Regions from separate parts of the Homo sapiens genome. Here all the other regions are linked to region 2. Evidence: promoter capture Hi-C in 16 types of primary human blood cells and fetal thymus (Javierre and others, 2016). All regions are on one chromosome and are shown on one strand. The core of a region is centred on a gene start or on the middle of the fragment in contact, and the rest is flanking DNA. Distances in the headings are between cores, read along the strand shown. Region 1 holds the start of HILPDA (hypoxia inducible lipid droplet associated). Region 2 overlaps SND1 (staphylococcal nuclease and tudor domain containing 1). Region 3 holds the start of IMPDH1 (inosine monophosphate dehydrogenase 1).

Region 1 (2,987 bases), core at 123-2,622, 740 kb before region 2:
CTCTGCAGAGAAACAGAGCTGCCTTCTCCTTCTGAAAGGCCTCTGGACCCTGAGAAAAAAGAGGAAAGGATGAATCTATAGCCTTTTGGGGATATGCATGCATCCAGCCCTGACTCTTCTGTCCTCTCACAGGGCTGAAGGAGAGGCTTAGCCAGTGAGGGACACAGGGACCAGGGAGTTGCACAGCAACTCTCCAAGAATATTTTACATTGCAAACTTCATGGCTGCGGAGCCAGTGTTGCTTCTTGGACTAATTCAAGAACACTTCTTAAAACTTTTACTTTCTTAGGCCAGGCGCGGTGGCTCATACCTGTAATCCCAGCGCTCTGGGAGGCCGAGGCGGGTGGATCACCTGAGGTCAGGAATTCGAGACCAGCCTGACCAACATGGTGAAACCCTGTCTCTACTACAAATACAAAAATTAGCCGGGCATAGTGGCACATGCCTGTAATCCCAGCTACTCGGGAGGCTGAGGCAGAATTGCTTGAACCCGGGAGGCAGAGGTTGCAGTGAGCCAAGATCGCGCCATTGCACTCCAGCCTCGGCAACAAAAGCAAAACTCCGTCTCAAAAACAAACAAACAAACATTTACTTTATTGAAAATTTTGTTCCTGCAAGGCACAATACACAACCCCTGTGCTACAGTGCAGGCATCAGTCACCTTCCTGAAATAGGCCCAGTCCTTTTGCAGGGGGGTGGTGGGTAATGGGAAATATAAGAACATGCCCTGGAGAAAGGAACCTGCCTAGAAGTCTCTCCCACATCACAGATTGGAGTTAACTACAAACTTTTTGCAAGTCCAAATAACTCTATGAGGGTCAAATCTATCAAGTTCATTTATTTAACAAACATACCATGAATATCTGCAATGTGTTAGGTACCCTGGAAGATACTAGGGCCACATTGCAAACCTTATAGACAAAGGGTAGTTAACACGCAACACGCTAAGTGTTGGGACAGCAAGGAGATCGTGAAGGTGCTCTGGGAGGGCATGGCAGGGATGCCTAACTCAGCACCTGTGGGCGTGGGATGGGCCACGTGGATCCTAGTTAGGACCACCTTAGGACAAAACAGGGCTGACGGCTGAATGGGGACCCCAGATGGGGCGTGGGCGATCAGAGAGGATCCCGGCGGCGCACCCCCAGCCCTGGAACGCGAGGCTGCTAGCGCGGCGAGCACTCTAGCGATGGGGGTGGGGAGCCGGGGAAGCCCACAGGGCCGCTCACCTCCGGGGGAACAGCCGGGAGTGGATCGCCGGCTGTAGGAGCAGGTCGTGCAGGAGTCCGGAGGAAAGTCGGTTACTAAGCACCAGCGCAGAAGCTTCCCGCCACAAAACTCACCGGAGACAAAAGCGCCGTCAGCCGCAGAGCGCAGAGCAACGCCGCCCAGCCTCCGCCCCTTATAGCCGCGAGCACGCCCCAGGAGGGTACGCGCACGCGCACTGGAGGCCGCACGCACGCCCGGGACGCACACGACGTGGCGCACGTCCGCGGCCCCACCCCGCGGGCAACGGGGTTTGGGGATTGTCCCGGGTGCTCTCCCGCGGAGCTGTTTCCAAAAGTACACGTCGTGCGGTTTTGAGTCATTGTGTTCTGGAGTGAGACGAGGCGTGTGTATTAATCTCGACTGCCATCTCTGCTGTAGAAAACATTTGAAGGAGTCAGAGAGCACATATCCCTTCTCCCCAGTAGGTGAAAAACACCGATGGCCTTCGTGTCCGTGAAGCCCCGCCGTGAAGGGTGGGTTCTTCCCCAGAGATTTCGGGTGCACTAAATTGTCAGAGGGCACCAGACCCCTACCCCACTCGTTATTTTCTTCATTTCAAGGACTGAAGAGCTGGTTTTGTTTCACTTCATAGCTGTACCAAGATTCCAAATCCCGAGTTTCAGTTGCCATCGGTATCTCTGGAATGGTGAGGCCCTTGTGCAACATATTAAGCTCTGCAAGCTCTGCTTTCTATGAGAGTTTGTCGTGTCGCTTCAGAAAACGTGAAATACTCCTGGCCCTGGTGTGGGATCCTAACTGCATATGGGCAAGTCACTTGGTATTTAAATGGGCCTCGGTTTTCTCATCTGTAATGAAGACATTGGCCACTAGATGATTTTTCTTCTTCTTCTTCTTTTTTTTTTTTAAATAGAGACAGTCTCGCTATGTTGCCCAGGCTGGTCTCGAACTCCTGATCTCAAGCCATCCTCCCACCTCTGCCTCCCAAAGTGCTGGGGCTACAGGCGTGAGCCACCGCGCCCGGCCGCTAGATGATTTTTAAGGGTGCTTTCGGCTTGAACTAAAGAGCCAGGAGGTCACAGACCAGCCTTATGTCCAGATTTGGGGGGCTAGGCTGCCTTACTAATCACCCCCGAACCCACCCAGCCAAGACTGTGCGGTCTGTCTTGAGAGCACGCAACGGGGGATCTCAGAAAGTAGAGTCCCGGAGAGACACTGGGAATGGGGAGGACCCCCGGGAAGGGGTGTACACGCCGTGGAAGGGAAGGCCGCTGGTGGCTTTAGAACTGGCGGTTCCGTGTACCCGGGTCAAGTGCCCGTGCCGGATGGGAAAGAACCCTGTGACTTTCCACATCTCAGCGAGCTCGGCGGGCTCTGCTTAAGAAGGGCTCTAAGACGGGAAGGGAGGAGCCATCCCCACTGCGACCTTTCCCCTCCTTTCCTGGCTGGCTGGCTGTGGTCTGTCGGGAATGAGGGGGTGGGGAAGCCGGGAAAGCAGAAGGTTGGGGCTGGAGGTCTGCTGGCAGGCAGGCAGACATTTGGAGCCAACTTTCCTGCTCAGCCCGCAGAACTTTTGGTCCTTCGCTATACCAGAGTTTCGTCTGTTTTTTTGCTTGACTGTGTGACCCTTCTCTCACACTGTTATTAAATAGGTCTCAAGCTGCGAAATCACTGCCAGATCCAAACGCCACTACTTTGCCAGGTGAAGGCCTTGGGCGAACCCTTTAACCTTCTTGTAGTTCTGTTTCCTCAGCTGTTCTGTG
Region 2 (3,294 bases), core at 77-2,576:
ATAAAATGAAGAGTTGTAGAGATATGTGGTGGTGATAGCTACATAGCAATATGAATATAAATACCACTGAACTGTACACTTAAAAATCGTTAAGATACTACATATTATGTTATGAATTTTGTCATTATAAACAATTTGAGGAAAAAAATTCTCAGAGACATGATAATGAACTCCATCTAGAGCTATGACTGGAAGCACAGCAAAAAACTATCAGGGTAAATAAAACCAAATACATTTTAAAATCTACTGTACCCATGGACAGTTTATATCCTGATCTCCAAAACTGGACTTGGCCACCAATGCCAGTTAACCACTTACTGCTCCCAGACAAAGCCCTAGCAGGTAAGCTCCTTGAAGGCAGGAACCACTTCTAGTTATTTTACATCTTTTCAAAGCACCTAGTTCAGGGCTCTGCTTAATCTATATATAGGTACAGAGGACCAAGCAAGAAGCCTCTAACCAGGTAGGGTGGTAAGGAGACACCTCTTGAGGACATGATTCCACTCCATCCCTCCCCCACCCCCCACAACAATGTTATTCAGGTCTGTGAAATCTGCAATGCCCAAGGATCCAGCAGCAGGAACAGGGAAGCCAAGCCACGTGCTCAGGGGACCATATGGCTACAAACAGCACAGATCAGCTAAAACGCCACAGGGAAGGCAGGGAGGGAACTGGCAGGCCACGACGGGCACAAAAGTCTCGGGCAAGCTCAGCTAATCGCTGTGAAGTGAACATGCTTCTCTGCTAACCTGGAAAGACAAGGAGAGCCCTTCCTTTGCATTTCATTCCTCAAGAAGTAAAACTGCTTAAGCAGACAAAGGGAACCAGTCTCTCAATAGGCCACATGTATCAGAGAATACTTTGTCAAGTTTCACATTTCTCAGGCTTAATAAGCCTCTTGGCACTCTGACCTACAGCTTTGCCTCAGTTCCAGAAATCAACTGTAGAGCCCCAGAGGCATCCAGTTAGAGGCCATAGGTTACCCTTTGCAGGCTTTTGAGGCTTTTAGCGGGGCCCTGTACAATTAATTCCTAAAAAACAGGGTGATTGTTGAAGAGAGAATCACTATTTGTTAAGGCTTCACAATCACATGATCTTGAAAGCAGAATCACTCAGGGAAGACTTGCAGGACTTTCAGACTATGTGAAGGTCCCAGGTATCTTAGAACTTTTTTAGGATTCCCTGAAAAAAGCTGTTTGCCACTAACAGATATTTTAAATCAGGTAAAATGATACAGAACTGCTGTTGAGTTCCAGGTTATGAAAAGTAATGCATGTATTTTTTTCCATTTTTAACTTAATGTTGCTATCCAGTGTTCTACAAGAAAGGCTGGCAAACTATGGCCCAAGGGCCATCCAGCCCACTTCATATTGTTATAAAGTTTTCCTGGAATATTGCCACAACCATTCATTTACACACTGTCCATGTCTGTTCTCCTGCTACCATGGCAGGGTTCAGTAGTTGCAACAGAGACCACATGGCCACCAAGCCTAAAATATTTACAATGTGGTCCTTTAAGAAAAAGCTGTCCAATCCCTGTTTTACAACATATTAGAAAATGAACACACTTAGTGGTATATACTGGTTAACATTTCTAAAGACATGTTTGGCAAATGTGAGCCAAATAATTTCTAAGGAAATAACTGCCAATTACTTGGAGATTTATTCCACTTTCTAAATAACGAAAAAAATTCTCAACTACATGAATATAAACCTATTAGAGACTGGTCAAAAATATTATGTTGCAGCCTACAATGAAATATTACACATCAATTAAAGAAGTAAGCTCTTTATTTTGGGTCCCTCTCTAAACACCTCTAGATAAAAGGGATCTGTAAAACGTATCTATACATAAGCCCAAAAGGAAGAAGATAATGAGAGAGAACACTGCAACAAAACCCTGGAAGCTGGAAAGCAGATGGATGAGTAGTAACTTACTCCACTGACTCACAAAAGCTAAATCCTGAGACAGTGGCGAGAAAACACAATAGGCAATCTGATTTATACCGCAGTCCCACTCTCCCTAATCTGCCAAGACTCAGAAACTGTCAAATCAAGCATCTCAATTGGGAATGAAAATGGGACCAAAAATGATGGATGGTTTCAAATCTTTGTAAGAAGCAGATGGATTTCAAGATGTATACCCTGGCCAGGCATGGTGGGTCACACCTATAATCCCTGCAACTTTGGGAGCTCAAGGTGGGAGGATCACTTGAGCCCAGGAGTTCAAGACCAGCCTGGGCAACATAGGGAGACCTCATCTCTACAAAAAATTTAAAAATTAGCCAGGTGTGTTAGCGTGCACCTGTAGTCCCAGCTATTCGGGAGGCTGAGGCACGAGGATCGCTTAAGCCCATGAGCTTGAAGCTGCAGTGAGCTGTGATGGCACCACTGCACTCCAGCCTGGGTGACAGAGCAAGACCCTGTCTCAAAAACAAACAAGCAAATATGTATACCCTAAATCCCACACTAGGGTCATTGCTTCTAAACTCAGTGTTTTAATATCTTATTCTCAAATAAGACAGAAAACCAAGACTCAGCAAATATCTGAGGAAAGCCTCTAATATGAAAAATAAGGGACCAAAATAACCCAAGAAGGGGAGAGGAGAGGCTTGAAGAACATAGTGAGTGCGCAGTAAAAATGAAACTAAAAAAAAAAAAATCAATTTCGCAGAAAGCTAAGAGATGATTTTTATCTCTGAAGTCAGTATAAAACTTTATTTTTTAAAATAGTAAAAGAGAAACATGCAGAGAACAAAAAAAGTTCTTAAAAAATAAAACAGTATCATGTCAATAAAACTACTGAAAGGTAACTATAAAGAAATCTAAAAAGAATAGAAGATGAGACAGAAAATAGGAGAAAAAAACTGGAAGATGAGCCCACAAAATCCAACAACCAAATAATAGGAGTTCTAGAAAAAAGAGAACAAAGATTCTAGATGGAAACCAACAAAAGAGTTGGGAGAAAAAGTCTCAGAACAAAACAACTAAACATTGAGGCATAATATGCTCAAATATAGATAAACAAAGTGCATCGCTATGAAATGTTGGAACACTAGGATCAAAAAGAATTTGCTAAAACCTTTCAGAAAGAAAAAAATATATAAGGATAAGAAATCAGGATGGTTTCAGATCCATAAAAAAATTAGAAATCAAAAAAGTTTCTGATAACTACTGACAGTGGAGTGATACTGATAGATACAATTCTAATGGAAAATGACTTCTAAAATAAAATTCTATATCCAGCTAAACTATCAAGTGTATGTAGAGAATGGACATGAAAGGTCTCAGAAA
Region 3 (3,081 bases), core at 356-2,855, 700 kb before region 2:
AGCCACCGTGCCCAGCCTAATTTTGTATTTTTTAGTAGACATGGAGTTTCGCCATGTTGGCCAGGCTGGTCTGGAACTCCTGACCTCAGGTGATCTGACCGCCTCAGCCTCCCGAAGTGTTGAGATTACAGGCATAAGCCACTGCGCCCAACCTAAATTTTAAAAAACTTAAATAAAAAAAGAATCCTGATTCTGGGGAGTGGGTGTGTATGTGCATAGGAAGAGGCACGATGAAGGATAAAGTCCAAGATCTTACTGTTGCATAAATTCAGCTTCCTTTGTGAAATCGTTGCTGAAAGTCTGACCCCTAATACATCTTAGCACTCCTCAATCACGCAGTGTTTACCATTTGTTCCCTCAGACTTGTCAGACAAAAGTCCAGATGCGCCGGGCGCGGTGGCTCACGCCTGTAATCCCAGCATTTTGGGAGGCCGAGGCGGGCGGATCACAAGGTCAGAAGATCGAGACCATCCTGGCTAACACGGTGAAACCCCGTCTGTACTAAAAATACAAAAAATTAGCTGGGCGTGGTGGCGGGCGCCTGTAGTCCCAGCTACTCTGGAGGCTGCGCCAGGAGAATGGCGTGAACCCGGGAGGCGGAGCTTGCAGTGAGCCGAGATCGCGCCACTGCACTCCAGCCTGGGCGACAGAGCGAGACTCCGTCTCAAATAAAATAAAAAATAAATAACATAACATAAAATAAAATAAAATAAAATTTCCAGATTCTTCTCGACTTAAAGATGGGGCTACCTCAGGGTAAATCCATCTGTAAGGTTGAAAAATCTTAAGTCAACCATTGTAAGTCGAGGACCATCTGTATATGGCATGAGAATTATCAGCTGTTTATTTTCATCTACTTTGTCTCCTGAAATAAATTGCCTGAGGGCAAGGACTCTTACATTTCTTTGCCATTTTTGCTAGGTGTTCAATCACCGTTCACAATGATAACAGTAGGAAAAAGTGCGCCTTCTAGTAAGTGGACAAACAAGTTTGAGTACACTGCTCTGCCCCACTCCCTTGTTACGGGGTAACATAACAAGGTAAAGTACCTCCACAACGAGGCAAGACTAGGTCCTGTTCCTTAAGGAGCCCGCAGCCTTGTCTGTTCTGTTCGTTCCCTGGCAGATTACAGGCTGTGGAGATCCCTCTCCCCGCTCTCTAACGTGGAGTCGGCTGAGCACGACTCTCTCGCCCCAGCGCGGGAGGTCTGCGGTCTGCGGGTATGAGGCGCTCCAGGGGACCTGGCATCGTCGGCGTGCAAGAGAGGAGCGGACCTGAGACGCAAGGAGAAGCCCTGCCTCTGGAGTCCAGCTCCTTTCCTCTTCTGGTTTTCCTCGGAAGGGGCCAGGAGACACTGGAAGGTCCGGACGGCAGGGAAGGGGACGGGGTTCTTTCCAGTCCCACCCGTGTAGGGACACCTCTCCCCCTCATCCCCCGATGTACCCTCGCTGAATCTGGGATGGGAGAGACGAACCGAGTCTAGGCATCTGCGTAGCAGCGCCGGGGAGAGCGGGGAGCCCAGGGCGGAGCCCAGTCGACTCCCGGATTCCCCTGCCCCGCCCCCGGCACGAGGCCCCGCCCCGGCGGCCCCGCCCCTCCTCGGGACTCGACCGGGCTGCGCTCACTGCCCAGCCGGGGCCCCGGGAGCCTCCAGGCTCCCGCCCGCCCTGAGCTGCGGCCTCCGCATGGAGGGGCCACTCACTCCACCACCGCTGCAGGGAGGCGGAGCCGCCGCTGTTCCGGAGCCCGGAGCCCGGCAACACCCGGGACACGAGACGGCGGCGCAGCGGTACAGCGCCCGACTGCTGCAGGCCGGCTACGAGCCCGAGAGGTGACGCCCAGGGCAGAGCGCGCGGGGCGCATCCGGGGCGGGCGGCCGAGGAGGGCGCGGCGGCTCCGGGAACCCGGCGACGCTGCGGGGGAGGGGCAGGCCCCACAAACCCTTCCCCTATTACCGCCTCAGCCTCTAACTTCCCGAAACGCCACGCTCCCGGCTTTGGTTGGGGGATGCAGACGGGCACTGTGCGAAGGGTTAGGTGCTTCGTTGCACGGGGGAGCGGAGGAGAGGGAACAGGTCGTAAAAACCTTCCCTAAAATCTTAGCCCTAGATTGGACCTCGCTACACACCCGACGACACCCCGTTCAGGTGGCTCCAACTCCTGGGGTTCAAACAGTGCTTGCTGGAGTCCTGTCCGACTGACTTGGCTTACCCCTCCTTAGCTGTTTCCTCCTAGAACTATCTTCAGTGGTCTTACTGGCAGGTGTTGGTGTCCAGATGGATCGCCTTCGCAGGGCTAGGTGAGGACACTCTCCCCTCCTCACCATGCACTGAGATCTGAGAGGCTGCCAGTGCAGCTCACCTCAAGGTCTCTCCGAAGACGCAGGCCCCCATGCTGGGGTCTGTAGGGGAATGAGGGACACTGGAGGAAGAGTAGGGTAGTGAGCTGGGCCCCAGGGGGACTGGCTGAAAAGGAGACAGCAGCTAATCTCTGGATTGTATCGCAGCTTGAAATGCAATCCCACTGTCCTTCCGGTCCAGAGGATTTGGACTTCTTTCTCTGCCCATCTGCTGGTGTTCAGCAGCTTGGGGAGGTGACCTGGCAGCTGGGTTAGATGGGGGTGGTCTGGGGGAATTAGCCCGGCAGCTCTGCCCAGGGGTTGGCCGCTTATGTAAGAACTTTTAACGGCTTAAGGGGCTCCTCGGCAGTGGGGCTGCTGAGTTAGGCCCCCCTGTCCTGGCAGGCTGCCTCTCTAGAATTGACTCAGGCTTAGGCAACTCCCAGCCTTTCTCCTGTCCTAGAAATCCAGCTCCTGGGGTTCAGGCCGCAGGGCGATAGGGAGGGGCCACAGGGGCTGAATGAGCCGGTTGGGGCTTGACAGAGGCAGTGCTTGGTTAGAGTAGGGGTTGCAAACATAATGTTTCAGAGCTCAGGCCGGAGCCATGTGAGTGCATCCTTTCTCCAGATTGCACTTCTGCATCAAGGGGCCATCCCTACCCCCACCCCCAACCGACCCGCACCCCCCACTTGGGCTCAGGGAGCCTGTGTAAACCTGAGCCCCAGCCAGGTGGTGTAGTGAGAT

What was found. The method cuts DNA at HindIII sites, captures the fragments that hold promoters and counts their contacts. A CHiCAGO score of 5 or more calls a contact.
Region 1: the fragment with the promoter of HILPDA here is called in contact with a fragment that was not itself captured in region 2 in 1 of 17 cell types (neutrophils); the score reaches 5.2 in neutrophils.
Region 3: the fragment with the promoter of IMPDH1 here is called in contact with a fragment that was not itself captured in region 2 in 1 of 17 cell types (neutrophils); the score reaches 5.1 in neutrophils.

What each region holds. Positions count from the first base shown.
Region 1 is chr7:128,454,263-128,457,249 of GRCh38, reverse strand. HILPDA (hypoxia inducible lipid droplet associated) reads right to left here and starts at 1,372. Exons shown (of 2, transcript NM_013332.4): 1 at 1,227-1,372; 2 at 1-49. It also overlaps the pseudogene EFCAB3P1. RefSeq lists a silencer at 1,320-1,459 and enhancers at 1,560-1,729, 2,638-2,987. The HindIII fragment of the contact is 2,271 bases long and covers 1,323-2,987 here.
Region 2 is chr7:127,711,313-127,714,606 of GRCh38, reverse strand. The region is part of intron 9 of SND1 (staphylococcal nuclease and tudor domain containing 1); the gene reads right to left. Among named protein-coding and RNA genes, the nearest start is that of SND1, 61 kb to the right of the region's middle. The HindIII fragment of the contact is 5,686 bases long and covers 1-3,294 here.
Region 3 is chr7:128,408,506-128,411,586 of GRCh38, reverse strand. It overlaps IMPDH1 (inosine monophosphate dehydrogenase 1), which reads left to right and starts at 1,605. Exons shown (of 17, transcript NM_000883.4): 1 at 1,605-1,831; 2 at 2,103-2,146; 3 at 2,235-2,298. The coding sequence starts at 1,686. RefSeq lists an enhancer at 949-1,188 and a silencer at 1,459-2,078. The HindIII fragment of the contact is 8,032 bases long and covers 1-3,081 here.